2 separate regions of the Homo sapiens genome follow, and region 1 is linked to region 2. Evidence: promoter capture Hi-C in human tissues and cell types (Jung and others, 2019). All regions are on one chromosome and are shown on one strand. The core of a region is centred on a gene start or on the middle of the fragment in contact, and the rest is flanking DNA. Distances in the headings are between cores, read along the strand shown.

Evidence for each region. Contacts are between HindIII fragments. The study calls those that stand out against the background at their distance.
Region 1: a fragment that was not itself captured here is called in contact with the fragment with the promoter of MYCN in region 2 in 1 of the 25 tissues and cell types used here (heart left ventricle).

Annotation. Positions count from the first base shown.
Region 1 is chr2:15,795,080-15,802,360 of GRCh38, forward strand. No RefSeq gene overlaps it. Among named protein-coding and RNA genes, the nearest start is that of LINC01804, 110 kb to the left of the region's middle. RefSeq lists an enhancer at 5,670-6,517. The HindIII fragment of the contact is 7,599 bases long and covers 1-6,753 here.
Region 2 is chr2:15,937,664-15,944,455 of GRCh38, forward strand. It overlaps MYCN (MYCN proto-oncogene, bHLH transcription factor), which reads left to right and starts at 2,887. Exons shown (of 3, transcript NM_005378.6): 1 at 2,887-3,080; 2 at 4,285-5,191. The coding sequence starts at 4,402. MYCNOS (MYCN opposite strand) reads right to left here and starts at 4,022. Exons shown (of 4, transcript NR_110230.2): 1 at 3,869-4,022; 2 at 3,311-3,434; 3 at 837-1,062. RefSeq lists enhancers at 883-1,440, 2,485-3,015. The HindIII fragment of the contact is 20,661 bases long and covers 1-6,792 here.

The DNA.
Region 1 (7,281 bases), core at 1,704-4,203, 140 kb before region 2:
GCCCCTGCACTCCCCTCTCCTGCCTTTCTTGTCTGTCCAAGCCTCACTGCTCACTGACCAGCAGCAGGAGTATCACCTGGGAGCTTGTTAGAAAGGCCACACCCTAGACCTGCTAAATCTGGCTCTGCATGTTAACAAAGCCCCCCACCCCCACCCCCAGGAGACTCAAACACACCTACAGTGTGAGCAGCCCTATGTTAGACCATTTAACCTTCCTTTGGATGAAGAGGAAGTAGAGCTCAGTGGGATTAAGCAGCCTGGCCAAGGCCACACAGGAAGAAAACGCAGAGATGAGGCACTTGACTCAGGTCGTGATGCCACGCTGGAGGTGCCCTCCTGGGCACTCATGGCTGTGGGGGAAAAGTGGGAAGCTTCAGTTTAGTTTCAGAGTAAGTTCATATTCATTTGCTTGACAGATGAAGCTTTTCCTTAGAGGAGAAACCCTGACATTGAGCGGCGGCACATCCTGTTGACCGGGAGCCAGGCCCTGGCTGCAGCCAGCGGGGAACATCTGGATGACATTAGCAGCCTGAGTGTTTGGTTACAGAATATGTCCACCTGGCCTGGCCACAGCCAGGAAGAGAGAAGAGCTTGGGTTCAAGAGGGAGTTCCAGCAGGCGTAAGTAGTGGCTGCTAGGAAAAGCCTCTGAAGCGCATTCCGACGTGGGCTTCAGGCCAGGAGCAAGTGCAAGACTACGTTTTGGTGGTGTCCTAGGTGGGACAGAGTTTTCTTAAAGACGTAAAGTTTCCTCAGGGGGCAGCCAGTGTGATCCCATAGCTCAATCCCAGATCCTCTTGGCTGTTTTGCCGAGGGACTGTCCAGTTTCTGCTCCCACTCTTCCAGGAGCAGGAGGCTCACTTCTTCCTGAGGAAGTCAATCTCTTGTCCAAGCCCCCAGACTCCTGAAACGCCTTCTTGGTGATAAGCTGGAATCCTCCCCAAAGCTTCCAGACTCTGCCTTAGAGACACAGAACAAATCCCTAAACCATATGATGGTACTTCAGATATGAGAAATCAGCATCTGGTCCAGACTGGAGGGCTGGGGGATGATCAGAGTGTGGAACCACCTGTCCTCTGGGTGGTGCTTGTGAAGGAGGGTGTTGGGGGTTGGGTGGAAATAGGTGCCACCCAAGACCACCTGAGACAGCCTTGCTGGGTGGGCACATGAGTGGAGGCCGTTGGGCAGGTGGGAGTCAATTGCAACCCTGAGGCAGGAGAGAGGATGGGGAATGAGGAGTAGGGCAGCTGGTGGCCAGGAAAGCTGAGATCCAGGAGGGGACAGGGGAGGAGCAGGTCAACAGGAGTGGGTCGGAAGCACCTCTCTCATACGGAGTCTGGGCTTGAGTATCTCTGTAGGGTGTGCATTACACTGCTGCCCTCACAGAGCTGTTCAGGGTCCGGAGCCTGTCTCACACCAAGCAGGTTTTCAGAGAAGAGGCTTTGAGCTGGGTGTAAAAAGAGAGTCGGAGAATGGGCCCTTTGCAGTTAGATTTACCCAGGCTCAGCATGTCCCAGCCCCAGGCCCGGGGACAGATTTACACAGCTTTTCTGAATCTTAATGTTCTCCCCTGTAAAATGGAAGCGTAATACCTACTTCCTATCTTTCGTTGGATTCAGTGCTTAAATGCATGGAATGTGGTTAGCAGAGTGCTCAACCCATAGAAAAGTTTGCACCCTTTTAAAATATTTCTGGGTGAGCAGGAATTAAAGCTTACATGGCAAACTTTTCAAATATCTGTTTATGGGCAGGAGGAAAGTGAGATAAAAATGGCTTTTGTTTCTAAGGCACCCATGAGGCCCATCCTTACTCCTTGAGGAAAATGTGTATCTTGGTTAAGTCGCTATTAACCCCTGGCTGTTTCCCTCGACCGCTGGGACGCCACCTTAGTGTCCACCTTAGATATCTGTAGGTGCCCATGATGACACAGGCTTGGAGGGTTTCACAGGCGCCATCTCATTTAATTTAATCCTGGCTGCCACTCTAGGGTCATCTTTCCGTTCCGTTTGTACAGATGCAGGAACTGAGTTGCAGAAAGCTTTAGGGAGGCTGTGTGACTTGCCTGAGGTCACACAGCCTCTGAGTGTGGGGGGCAGGGGAACTTTCCCCCGAGTCTCCCCATTAGCTACCCTCCAGGACAGAGAGGTTTTCTGAGGAGGGTGGGTTTGAGCTGGGGGATTCGTCCACTCCCTGACCCCACCTTGGCCCTCTCCTCACCTTGGCCTTTCCTGGGCAAGGGGCCATGGGGCAAGAGACCTCCCCAGACCTCCAGGTCCGCACCAGGCCCTGCAGCTGGCAAACCTCCTCATCCCCAACAAGGGCGGGCATCTCCCAGGCAGCACCCCCTCTCCGGAAAGCATAATCAGCAGCAGCTAATCTAATCAGATGGGGCTCCCACAGCTGAGCCTTCCAGTCCAGAATCCACCCCTGCCCCTGCCTGCCAGACCCCTTTTCTAAAATCTGTGATCTTCCTGCTTGAAATCACCTTTAATTTCCCTCAGGAATGAACAAGCATTTAGAGGTTTGGTTTCAATTACACCTGGAAAAAAAGTTTGACACAAATTTCAAGCCAAATAAATTAGGAAACCACAGACCCGGGACTACAAAGCGAGCGACGAGGAGAGGCTGAACTTCATCCCTGGGTGAGCGCAGACCCTGTGCCATGCTCCTCACTGCTCACCAATGCCTGGCCAGCGTTCTCCTCCCCTGCCTGGGCTTTCTCCCCCAGGAAGCCTTCCTTGACTGCCCCAGCCACCAGGGGTCTCTCCTGCCTTTGCTCTCCTAGAGTCACAATTCTGTGGGTGACTGCCTTAGGAAAAGAATCGCTTTGTAACCACCTCTTACCTCCCAGCTCTCTCACATTCCCTCACCAAATATGCATCCGTGGAGGCCGCAGCAATGATAATACCCAGTTTCCACATGATTAATGTGATTTCCTTCACCTCATTTCTTTTTCCCTCAACCACCAGAGCAAAGCATCAACCATTGCCCAGGTATCAGCTTCAACAGCACCTCCTTCAGGAAGCCTTCCTTGATTGCTCCAGGCCAGGCAGAGGGTGAGTGCAGGAGGGAATCTGAGGTCCCAACATATCTGATTCCCAAATCCCTGGGCAATATTACAGTCTGGCTGGGGATGCAGGGCAGCAGCACAGGACATGTGTACGCCGTCACCACCTGCCCACGGGAATGCAGCCATCTAGGGAATGTGGGGGTCCTCAGAGTTGCCCCTGAGGGCCAAGGGGTCCCAAGTAAATATAAACAAATTGTCCAGTAATCTGGTCTCCAAAGATGGGCCAGGCTCAGAGATGTGGTCATGCCAGAAAAATAGCTGATTTTGGCTCCGGAAGACACTAACTGTGAAGCGGAGCTGGACTAGGAGTGGACCGTTTCCATCAAAGAGGTGGGTGGGATTTAGCACACTGCCTTCCTTGTTTCTGTGTCCATTTTCTCCATAACATTGTGAGCTTTTGAGGACAAAGTTTTTATCTGGTTAACCTGTGAATGGATGGCACTTACTTAGTCATTCAATAAATATTGGTGGAAGAAAGTAAGATATGGAGGAAGGTTGAAAGGAAGGACAGAAGGGAAAAAGAGAAGAAAGGAGGAAGGGAAGGAGGGAGGAAGGAAATGCCAGAGGAATCCCTGAGACATCTCAGCCAAGTGCCACTGGCCTCAGCTAGTCATGGTAGATGAATATTTGTAAAAGAAACTAAGCTGATTCCGATGCTTCTGGGAAAAAATCCCAACTTCCAGGCTTGAACTTTAAGCTCCTCACCATCTGGCCCTAATATTTCCTTCTGGCCTCATCTCCCACTATCAGTGAATGAACTCAACCAGCCTGCATGCAGTTGGCCACAGCCTGGCCCTAGCACTGAAATCGCCACCTGGCTTTCTTATCTCTGAGTCACTCAGTCCCCATATCCTACTTGGATGGAACCCCTTGAGAGGTTTTAAGGGTCCTTTCCAGGCATCCAGTCCTAAGGATACTCATCTCTGAAAAGAAAGAGGAGAAAGAAAACGGATACAATGCAGGATCATGAGTGTGACAGCAGAAGGACTTCCAGGATAAGATGGAGCCTCCAAGGCTAGCTGAAGGCTCAGAGGGAGAAAAGTGCCTGAACTAAGGCTTGGAGGATGAGCTATGATTGCTGGTGATTAAGGGAGAAGACAGACATTCTAGACAGAGGAGGGGCCTATGCCCAGGCACAGAGAGCAGGTGCTGTAATGGATCCACTGCCCTTCCTCTGGCTCAGCCTGGACAATTCCTTTGCATCCTAGAGGTCCCAAACTTTCTTCTTCCGTGCGTTCCTCCCTCTCTGACCCTGTGGTCCCTCCAGCCCCCTCCCACAGAGCACCTGGTGCCACCCTCTCTCAGTGCAGGGCTCTGGGTCTGGGTCTGTTTTGCTTCATGGTCAGAGGTACAAGCACAAGTCACCCTCTTGCTCCTACTGGTCTGGAAGCACCCTAGAAACAGGTGACTCATCCTTGAGGTAGTCTCTAGCAGAGCCTGAAACAGGTGCTCAGCTGATGCAAATCTAAACACAACTGTAGCTATGACTATCGGGTGCTGTGCCAGGCACCAGATGTGCAGAGACAAATACAACCAGTAGATTCACGTACCCTTTTCTATCTAGGGAACACTCAGCCAGTGCTAAGTGCTTGGCATTTGTCCTTGCAGCAACCTGGTTCCCAATTGGGTCACTGTGACAGGGGAGAAATCGAAGGCCAGAGTCACAGATCCCACAAGTGGCAAAGCCAGACCTCAAACCCAGGGTGTTTTGAGTTCCAACTCAGCATATTCCCCAACACCCCAAGTGCCCTCCCTGCTCCCGGGGTTGTCCTGGGACTAGCTGGGAATGAGGCGAGTGAGGCAGTGCTGAGAGATCTTTGAAGGGCTCTGCAGGCCAATAGGTCCTCAGGCCTCACACCAGGAAGTCCCGGCTGCTTCCTGGACAGGAAGGCAGCGCAGGGGAGAGGGCAGGTGCCTGGGGACCCTGGGACCCTGGCCTGATCCTTCTTGTACATGAGCCACAGGGAACACAGCCTACAGGGCAAGCCCAGGAGCATCCCAAGAGGATGGACATAGGGGAGAGTGAAGTCAGGCCATCGCATATTATCCAATTTTTCTGGCACCAAAATCCCTGCTCCCCCAGGTCAGCATACTGCTCCCGTGATGTCAGCGCATGCAGTCAGAGTCAGAGGCACATGCACGAGAGGAACTGCATGGGTTCAATGAACCCGGGAGGTTACACTGTGAGGGGACGACCCACCAGATGGGACTATTAGAATTCCAGAAGTCTACACCATGTATGTCCGGCATGGTCTCTGGCTTCAGGCACAGCCCTGTCCCCACACCCCACACCCCACACCCACCCCAGTATAGTGAATATTCACCCAAGTATAGCGAATGCCAAGGGCTTTGCAATCATTTCGGTAATGACTTGATATTCCAGAGGATCTAACACCATGCCCAGATGGGACTTCAGGTGTATAAAGTGTTTTTACCTCCAGCCGGTTCCTACCGTGTCCCTGAGTACTGGGGTTCACCCCCATCCCAGGTGAATAGCAGGCCCCAAGAGATAACATGCTTTGCCGAGGTCACACCTTTATTTCAATGACACAATCCTTTATCAACACCCACTCAGTAAAAGGGACGGTGACGCTTTGCACATTTCATTTCATTTTTACAACGATCCTGAGAGACAGAAATTAATACCCTCATTTTACAAATGGGGAATGAAGGTTCTGAAAGGAGTTGATGCAATTTGGCTAAAGTCACACAGTGGGTAAGCAGCCGATGTGGGACTCAAACCCTGTCACACAACTGTGTACGCCAGCTCCGAAGAGAGCAAAACCTGGCAGAAGGAAGTTGGCCAGTGCAGGGTGGTACAAGCAAAATACAAGAGTTCAGAAGCTAGGCTGGGCCTGGAGCGGACCAGTGTTGAGGAAGCCTTGTCTCCTCTCCTCCCCCCGGAATGTGAGCAATGTTTGATGACGCAAGACCCAGGCCTTCAGCCGCCTCCAGGGTGAGACTGGGCCCTGGGTCTCTCCAAGCCTTGGTGGGCCCCGGCGGCTGGGGACTGTGTGTCCTTTGGAATGAATGGAGCCCACAGTGTGAGTGCAGGCCTGGCTAGGACCCAGGGGCAGAAGCATGGGTACAGCCACTTCATTGTGTGGGCACAGGAACCCACTGGGGCCACATGCAAATGAGCCAGCTGGTGGGGATGGCGGCCACAGGCCAGGAGTCAGCCACGAGGAGGAACAGGAAGGAAGATGCCCAGGAGGAGAGGCCCAGGAATCTGAGCACGCAGCCTCCATCCTCGGTCTGCTAGAAACCAAGATCCTAGGGATGGCTGCCCCACCTTTGCTCCCCAGTGGAGGTGCAGTCAGCAACGCTGCCGGGGTATGAAGGATTTGAACCTTCAAACGCTTGATGGCCCAGACTCTCTCCAGAACAGAAAAATCTGTGTGCACACACACTCATGCACACAGTATAGGCACAAATGCAAGCGATTCAGACCTAGGCTTGTATCGCTGACATAATCGGTTCTCAAAACCTTTATGACAACGTGCAAATGATTATGAAGTCCCCTTAGCGTTTCGATAGACCTACCACGTGCACAGCCATTTCTCTTCCAGTATCTTAGTTTATTCCCACAGCCACCTTTTGAAGTCAACGAAATTGCAAACTTCGTCCCTGGCAATATGTTTTACAGATGAAGAAATGAAGGTTGGGCCAGTATCGGTGATTTCATTACGGTAAATTGCCAGTTAGTGACAAAGCTGGCACTAAAAGCAAGGTCTTGTGACTTTTAGTCCAAAGTCTTCCTCCGTGGGGGCCCTGATCCTCCAGCCTGGGTCTTCCTGCCTGTGGGCTCCCTGTGGGCACCGCCACTCTCAATTCCCAGCCCCTTTGTGTTGTTCTGTCTGCTCAGGGGCAGCTCATGCTCCACCTCAACCTCCATCCCGTGGGCCTCTCCACATAGCTGGGTTCAGGCAGGGTCTTCTCCTGCCTGGGATAAGAGAATGGAAGGCTTTTAAATGGGTGAATCACTTAGACCCAGAGAGAATGCTTCAATTTGGTTATAATAGAGGGGAGAGGAGTCTACCCAGACAAGCAAGGGAAAAATGAATCCGCTGTGTGAACTGGCATGGCAGAGGCTGGGGATTGGCCAACACGATGTGCCCTAGGGCGAGTTGCTTGTCTAGTTTTCTCTTTCTGGGCACCAGAACCTTAGCTACAATAGATCTCTGGAGTATATTTGGCCTAGATATCTATATGA
Region 2 (6,792 bases), core at 1,637-4,136:
CGTAAAGGTAGCAACCCCAAACCCCCTTTCGTGTGAGTCTCTCGAGTACACCCATATTCCCTTTTCTTGAGTGTGTACTTTTCCCTTTGCAATAAATCGTACTTTCACTATTTTCCAACTGGTCTTTGAATTCATTCTCTTGATGGTGTCAAGAGCCTGGACACTGGCTGGGGTCTAGGTCCCACTGGCATTTGGGGACCTCCCCTCCAACACTGTTGCACTGGGGGTTAAACTTCCAACGTGTTTTTTTTTGGAGGACACATTCAAACCATGGCAGTACTGAACAAAACCTTGGCTTTGAAACCATATGAAGATTTGTTTTGTGTGTGTTCACATAGTTGAAGTATTTCAACATTTTTAAGAGGGATTTTCAGGCTTCTCTATAAGCAGACTAAGAATCAGCATTAGCATGTTTTCTCCATGTACAAAGTCTTTTATCTTTCTACTTACAAATGAAGGTAACCAATAAATATTTGTTGAATTTTATCATTCTGTTAACCTTCAGATTCAGACTTGTCAGTAATTACTGGCTTGCATTAAAAGCAGGAGATTAGAGATTGAGGTCCAGGAAGTATAAATGATTTGCTCAAAGGCATGTAGAGTAACCAGGTCTCCTGTCCCTCTGTCCCCCTTTTCTGCTACACCTTGTCCCTCGACAAAGGGTGAATGACCTAGTGATGGTCATTCATCTGAGGAGAAAGGACAAAGGTAGGACTTTGAATCGGAGCAACTGAACCCATCCTGGCCTATTTTCACAGTCTTGCCACAGAAGATCTGGCCACCTTAGAAGGACTCATTCAGTGATCTTGGTCTTGAATAATACCATGAGTACTTACTATATACAGGTACACTGCTGTGCCGTAAGGATTCCCTCTGGAGCAAAACTGACCCAGGTCACAGGTTAGTGAGGGAGACTGAGCCTGTCTTCCACAGTGTCACGGAAGTGAGCACTAAACAAATACTCCCAGGCATGGATCATTACAAATGGAGGTGAGTGCTGGACAGGAAAGGACAGGATGCTAGGCGAGAATTCAGCAGGAGGGCTTGGTGGCGATTAGGGGGCTAGGGAAAAGCAGAAGTGGGGCTGTAAAAGGCTTTTGCAAAGATGAAGGCTTTTACATTTGTGAGGGAAATAACAATAATAAAGGTGCTTGGAAGGGCTGCTCATCCGCATTCATGGGCCTCTTCCTAGAACTCTGGGAATCTTTCTCCCTAGAGCTCTGTAGGCGTCCAGGGTCAGGGCTGGAAAGGCCTTCACAAATGCTAATCTGTGAGCATTTTATGGGTTGCCCCCTGACCCTCAGCATCCTCCTCCTTAACTAGATCCAATGGTGAGGTGAAGAGGTGGGGGCGATGGAGAATGGCATTTCCAGTTTGGAGAAAAAAGTAGGGAGAGGCGGGGAAGCCTTCCCACCCCAATCCCAGGGCCAGGTTCCCCTCTCTCCAAACAAGCCTAAGGAATGTTTTTCAAGGCAAAATCCCACCTCACTGTGTATTTGGTTGTGAAGGGGGCTGTCCAGGAGATCAGGGTTGTTTTTGGAGAGTTTGGAGGGCAGGGGCAATAATGTCTGACCCCCTGCAAACAAATACACCTGTAAGAAAAGCTAGACCAGAGTGAAGTAAAGCCAGGATTTGATGGTGGCGGGAAGGGAAGGGGCCAATGCTGCTGCTGGACAGAGGGGTGTTATTTTCCCCAGAAGAATAGCATGTCGTGGTCATCATCATAATAATAGCTGACACAACTATTATGGGCTGGGGACTTATAAGAGCTTTCATAACTCTCAGGTAGGAGGCACTACGAACTCCATTTCACAATTGAGGAAACTGAGGCACAAAGAAACGAAGTAGTGACAGCAGCTTTCCTTTTTCCCTTCAACAGTTTGGAATCAAGCTGTTTGAGCCGAGGCTGGGTCTCAGGAGGTGTGGACAGCACTTCCATCTCGGTAAATCAGATTCGCCTGCCCATAACTGGGGAGAATGGTGGCTTTGAAAAGGTTAACTTGGGAGCCCTGGGGACGGCTGCAGGGAACGTACGCCCATTCCCCCTAGGAAGCAGAGCCAGGCCGCCTCCTCCTCCGCAGTGGTGAGGACGCGTGGACAGTCCCGCGGGGGCGGCGGGAGACCTGCGGAGTGGCCGCACTCCAGGTCCGCGCCAAGGCCGGGCAGCTCCGCTTTCTGCTCAGTCTCCGCGAGGTGTCGCCTTCGGCCGAAGAAACCACCGCGGCGCCACCCTCGTAGCTCGCACTTATTTATTTATTTATTTTCAAACAAGGGGGGCGCCCCTCTTCTTTCAATTTGAAACTGGAAACATCCAGAGGTCTTGTTCCTAAGGGGGCGCGTCCTCTCCCTGCTATTTTGCACCTTCGGACTAGCCTTCTTTCGTAATTACACAGGAGCAACCTCCCTGCAAGGCCTTGCTCAACGTTGGCCTCGCGCTCAGCTGCACAACACGCAGTCAAAGCGGGGGCTGGGTTAGAAGCATCGGTCTCCCCTCCCCAACACACACCCCCGGAGCCCTCCGTAATTTTTTTTTCTTTTAATGACAAGCAATTGCCAGGCTCGCAGGGTGGGTGCTGCATTGCACCGCTCCGCGCGCAGCTGGTTCTCAGAGTGCAGCCGGTGCAAGCCCGGGGGTCCAAAAGGGCGGGAGGAGCACACCCTGGGCTTCCCAGCTTTGCAGCCTTCTCTCTGCAAAGAAAAGCAAGTGGCTTTTGGCGCGAAAGCCTTGGCGCCTCCCCTGATTTTTATGGAAATCAGGAGGGCGGGGTAAAGCCGCTTTCCTCTCCTTTCTCCCTCCCCCTTGTCTGCGCCACAGCCCCCTTCTCTCCCCGCCCCCCGGGTGTGTCAGATTTTTCAGTTAATAATATCCCCCGAGCTTCAAAGCGCAGGCTGTGACAGTCATCTGTCTGGACGCGCTGGGTGGATGCGGGGGGCTCCTGGGAACTGTGTTGGAGCCGAGCAAGCGCTAGCCAGGCGCAAGCGCGCACAGACTGTAGCCATCCGAGGACACCCCCGCCCCCCCGGCCCACCCGGAGACACCCGCGCAGAATCGCCTCCGGATCCCCTGCAGTCGGCGGGAGGTAAGGAGCAGGGCTTGCAAACCGCCCGGCGCCCAGGGAAGCGACGAGCGCCGGGGCAAGGCAAGCCCTGGACGGGATTGCGACGTGCGCACCGGGCGCCCTAATATGCCCGGGGGACTGTTTCTGCTTCCGAAACAAAACCATCTCTGGGTTTTCCCAGAAAAGCCAGTTCCAGCCCCGAAGGCATCCTGGCTAGAGGAGACCCGCCCTAATCCTTTTGCAGCCCTTACCGGGGGGAGTAATGGCTTCTGCGAAAAGAAATTCCCTCGGCTCTAGAAGATCTGTCTGTGTTTGAGCTGTCGGAGAGCCGGTGCGTCCCCACCCCAGGCTGGGGTTCTTCTCCAAAGGGTGCCCCTGGAGGAAGAAGAGGGGGGGATTAGGCAGGGCGAGGCCGCCGCGGTCGCAATCTGGGTCACGGCTGCTCCAGCTTGGAGGAGAGGCGGCTCTCCCGGCGACCCTCCTCGCGCGGGCGCCCCTGCCATTCCCGGGAACAGGGGCTCAGCCTCTCCCTCCCTGGAAGAGGACGTTGTCGTGGGTTTGGAAGAGCAGGGGTGGGCTTAGAGAGCTTCCAATTAAGCTATTGGCAGGAGTATCCCTGCAGCGGGTGAATGCCGAGGGGCGTTTGCTCAAATTTGGGGAGGGGAAGGATTTGTGGATATGGGTGTCTGTTGTTGGTCTCTGTCTAGAGAAAGGCTTTTTTTTATTTGCAAAGTTTTCTAAATCCCCTGCTATCATTTGCACTCCTGAGGTTGCATTTTTACAAAGGGGGTAGAAGGTACTCCAAATACCATTCCCGGTAGCTGGGTCGGAGAGCCTGGGGCTTCCCCTGAGCAGCCGGCCCCACACCGCTGCGAGTGCGGTTGTCTGCGTGCTCGTGAGAGCTAGAATTCTGCAGCCAGGAACAGCCCCCTCCCCCAGGCAGTGCCTTGTGTGAATGAAATGGCAGTTTCCAAAGTTGCGGAGCCTCGCCACCACCCCCTGCATCTGCATGCCCCCTCCCACCCCCTGTCGTAGACAGCTTGTACACAAAAGGAGGGCGGGAGGGAGGGAGCGAGAGGCACAACTTCCTCCACCTTCGGGAGCAGTGGGCAGAGTGGGGGGCTTGGAGGGAAGATTGGGGAACCTGGTTAGAGGGGGCGCCCATTGCCTATCCCCTCGGTCTGCCCCGTTTGCCCACCCTCTCCGGTGTGTCTGTCGGTTGCAGTGTTGGAGGTCGGCGCCGGCCCCCGCCTTCCGCGCCCCCCACGGGAAGGAAGCACCCCCGGTATTAAAACGAACGGGGCGGAAAGAAGCCCTCAGTCGCCGGCCGGGAGGCGAGCCGATGCCGAGCTGCTCCACGTCCACCATGCCGGGCATGATCTGCAAGAACCCAGACCTCGAGTTTGACTCGCTACAGCCCTGCTTCTACCCGGACGAAGATGACTTCTACTTCGGCGGCCCCGACTCGACCCCCCCGGGGGAGGACATCTGGAAGAAGTTTGAGCTGCTGCCCACGCCCCCGCTGTCGCCCAGCCGTGGCTTCGCGGAGCACAGCTCCGAGCCCCCGAGCTGGGTCACGGAGATGCTGCTTGAGAACGAGCTGTGGGGCAGCCCGGCCGAGGAGGACGCGTTCGGCCTGGGGGGACTGGGTGGCCTCACCCCCAACCCGGTCATCCTCCAGGACTGCATGTGGAGCGGCTTCTCCGCCCGCGAGAAGCTGGAGCGCGCCGTGAGCGAGAAGCTGCAGCACGGCCGCGGGCCGCCAACCGCCGGTTCCACCGCCCAGTCCCCGGGAGCCGGCGCCGCCAGCCCTGCGGGTCGCGGGCACGGCGGGGCTGCGGGAGCCGGCCGCGCCGGGGCCGCCCTGCCCGCCGAGCTCGCCCACCCGGCCGCCGAGTGCGTGGATCCCGCCGTGGTCTTCCCCTTTCCCGTGAACAAGCGCGAGCCAGCGCCCGTGCCCGCAGCCCCGGCCAGTGCCCCGGCGGCGGGCCCTGCGGTCGCCTCGGGGGCGGGTATTGCCGCCCCAGCCGGGGCCCCGGGGGTCGCCCCTCCGCGCCCAGGCGGCCGCCAGACCAGCGGCGGCGACCACAAGGCCCTCAGTACCTCCGGAGAGGACACCCTGAGCGATTCAGGTAAAGACCGAACTCGGGTCCGGCTGCCTCCCTGGGGCACTGGACCCCGGGTCGCGTCCCCTTTGTTAGTGCTCGTATGTCTTGGCCTGGGGAGCATTTTGGAGGCAGTGCTAGGGGCAGAGAGGTCCTGTTTCCCCCAAGTCTCTCCTCGGGGTAAAGAGAAGGGGCTGAGAGAATGCCGTTGCAAAAGGGGTGCTCTCCAATTCTCGCCTTCACTAAAGTTCCTTCCACCCTCTCCTGGGGAGCCCTCCTCTAGGCCATCACGGGCCCTCACCCGGTCCCCCACCTCTCTTTTGCAGCGCAGTCTGAGGAATAAAATTGGAGAAAGTTGGTGGCTAAACCGGGTGGGGGTTTAGGGGGTTGCTGGGTGCACTGCCTGGACAGAAACCTGTTAGCGCAGGGGTGAAAGGGACTCTCTGGCCCAGGTCAGGGGAGGGAAAGACATCCCGAGAAGATTCAAGGGCTGTGCAAAGCCCTGTTTAAGGCGCAGGAACTTATAGGAGGGTTGCACAGATGGCTAGAGCCGATTTTCTATTCTTTTTCTTTTTCTTTTTTTTTTTTTTTCAAATGTCGGTACCTTTCCCTTCCCCCATCCTCGGTGGGTGGTGGGCTATTTGCTCCTGGTGCGTGGCCAGCAGGCGGCGATATGCGAGGCCAGCAGGCGGGCCCGGGATCTGAAAGGCTGGGGGTGGTGGGGGCACCCTCCCTCCCTCCATTCAGCAGCTGGCTGCAAGTGCAACAGCAGTTGTGTACATTCTCAGGGGGCCTCCTCTTTCCAGTGTGCAGTGGAAACTGGCTGTAGTTTTGTCTTCCAGCCTGAATTCCAGGCCTAATTTGAGATGTGAGTTGTATCTGTAACCCAGTGCCCTTGAAGGTGAGGGCAGGCACTCAGCAGCCTCTCCAGGAAGGCTCACATCCTGGGAGGACTCACTGATTAGTTCTATTGTGTTCATTTGTCTGTGTCTTAAGCTGAAGGGAAGAGTTAAAACCAAGCCTTTCCCTGGGGGTCTGGATGAACAGAACTCAACCCAAAGAGTGGCATTGCCTTGTCCTTGGAGCAGGGAGCTGGGACCCCCCTTGGACTTTGAAAACCAGTGTTTTCAGAATGCAGGTGGATAACAAGCCTAAATTTACTTCTGGGCTGAGGAGAGATCTTTGAGGCTCCTGGAAGGAAACTTGGTGATAAGCCTCCAGTTTGAAACGGCTCTGTCCCTTTAATGTCTGTGCCTTGACAGCTTTTGGTGAGGAAGCACTTCCTTCCAACAGCTGTCTTCTTGGCAGAAAACCAAAACATTGGCTTAAAGGGACCCACAGACTGGAACAGCCTCACATTTCGGCTTTAGAACAAATCCCACAATTGTTCAGCTTTCCGGTCCCCTTCAGATCAAGCAGAAGATATGTTTTGATTTTCATGCTTGTATTTTAAACAATAATTTTCTACCCCAGCGTGGTAGTCAATGAGGAGAGAGGGGAAGAATGCGCACATGATGCTACACGTTTCTGTTGTTGCTGTTATTATTGGTGGCTTTGAGGAGAGCTGCTCCCATTTGGGGGTTTATACCAACTGTGGATTATGGCTTTGTCATTAAGATTTGATCTTT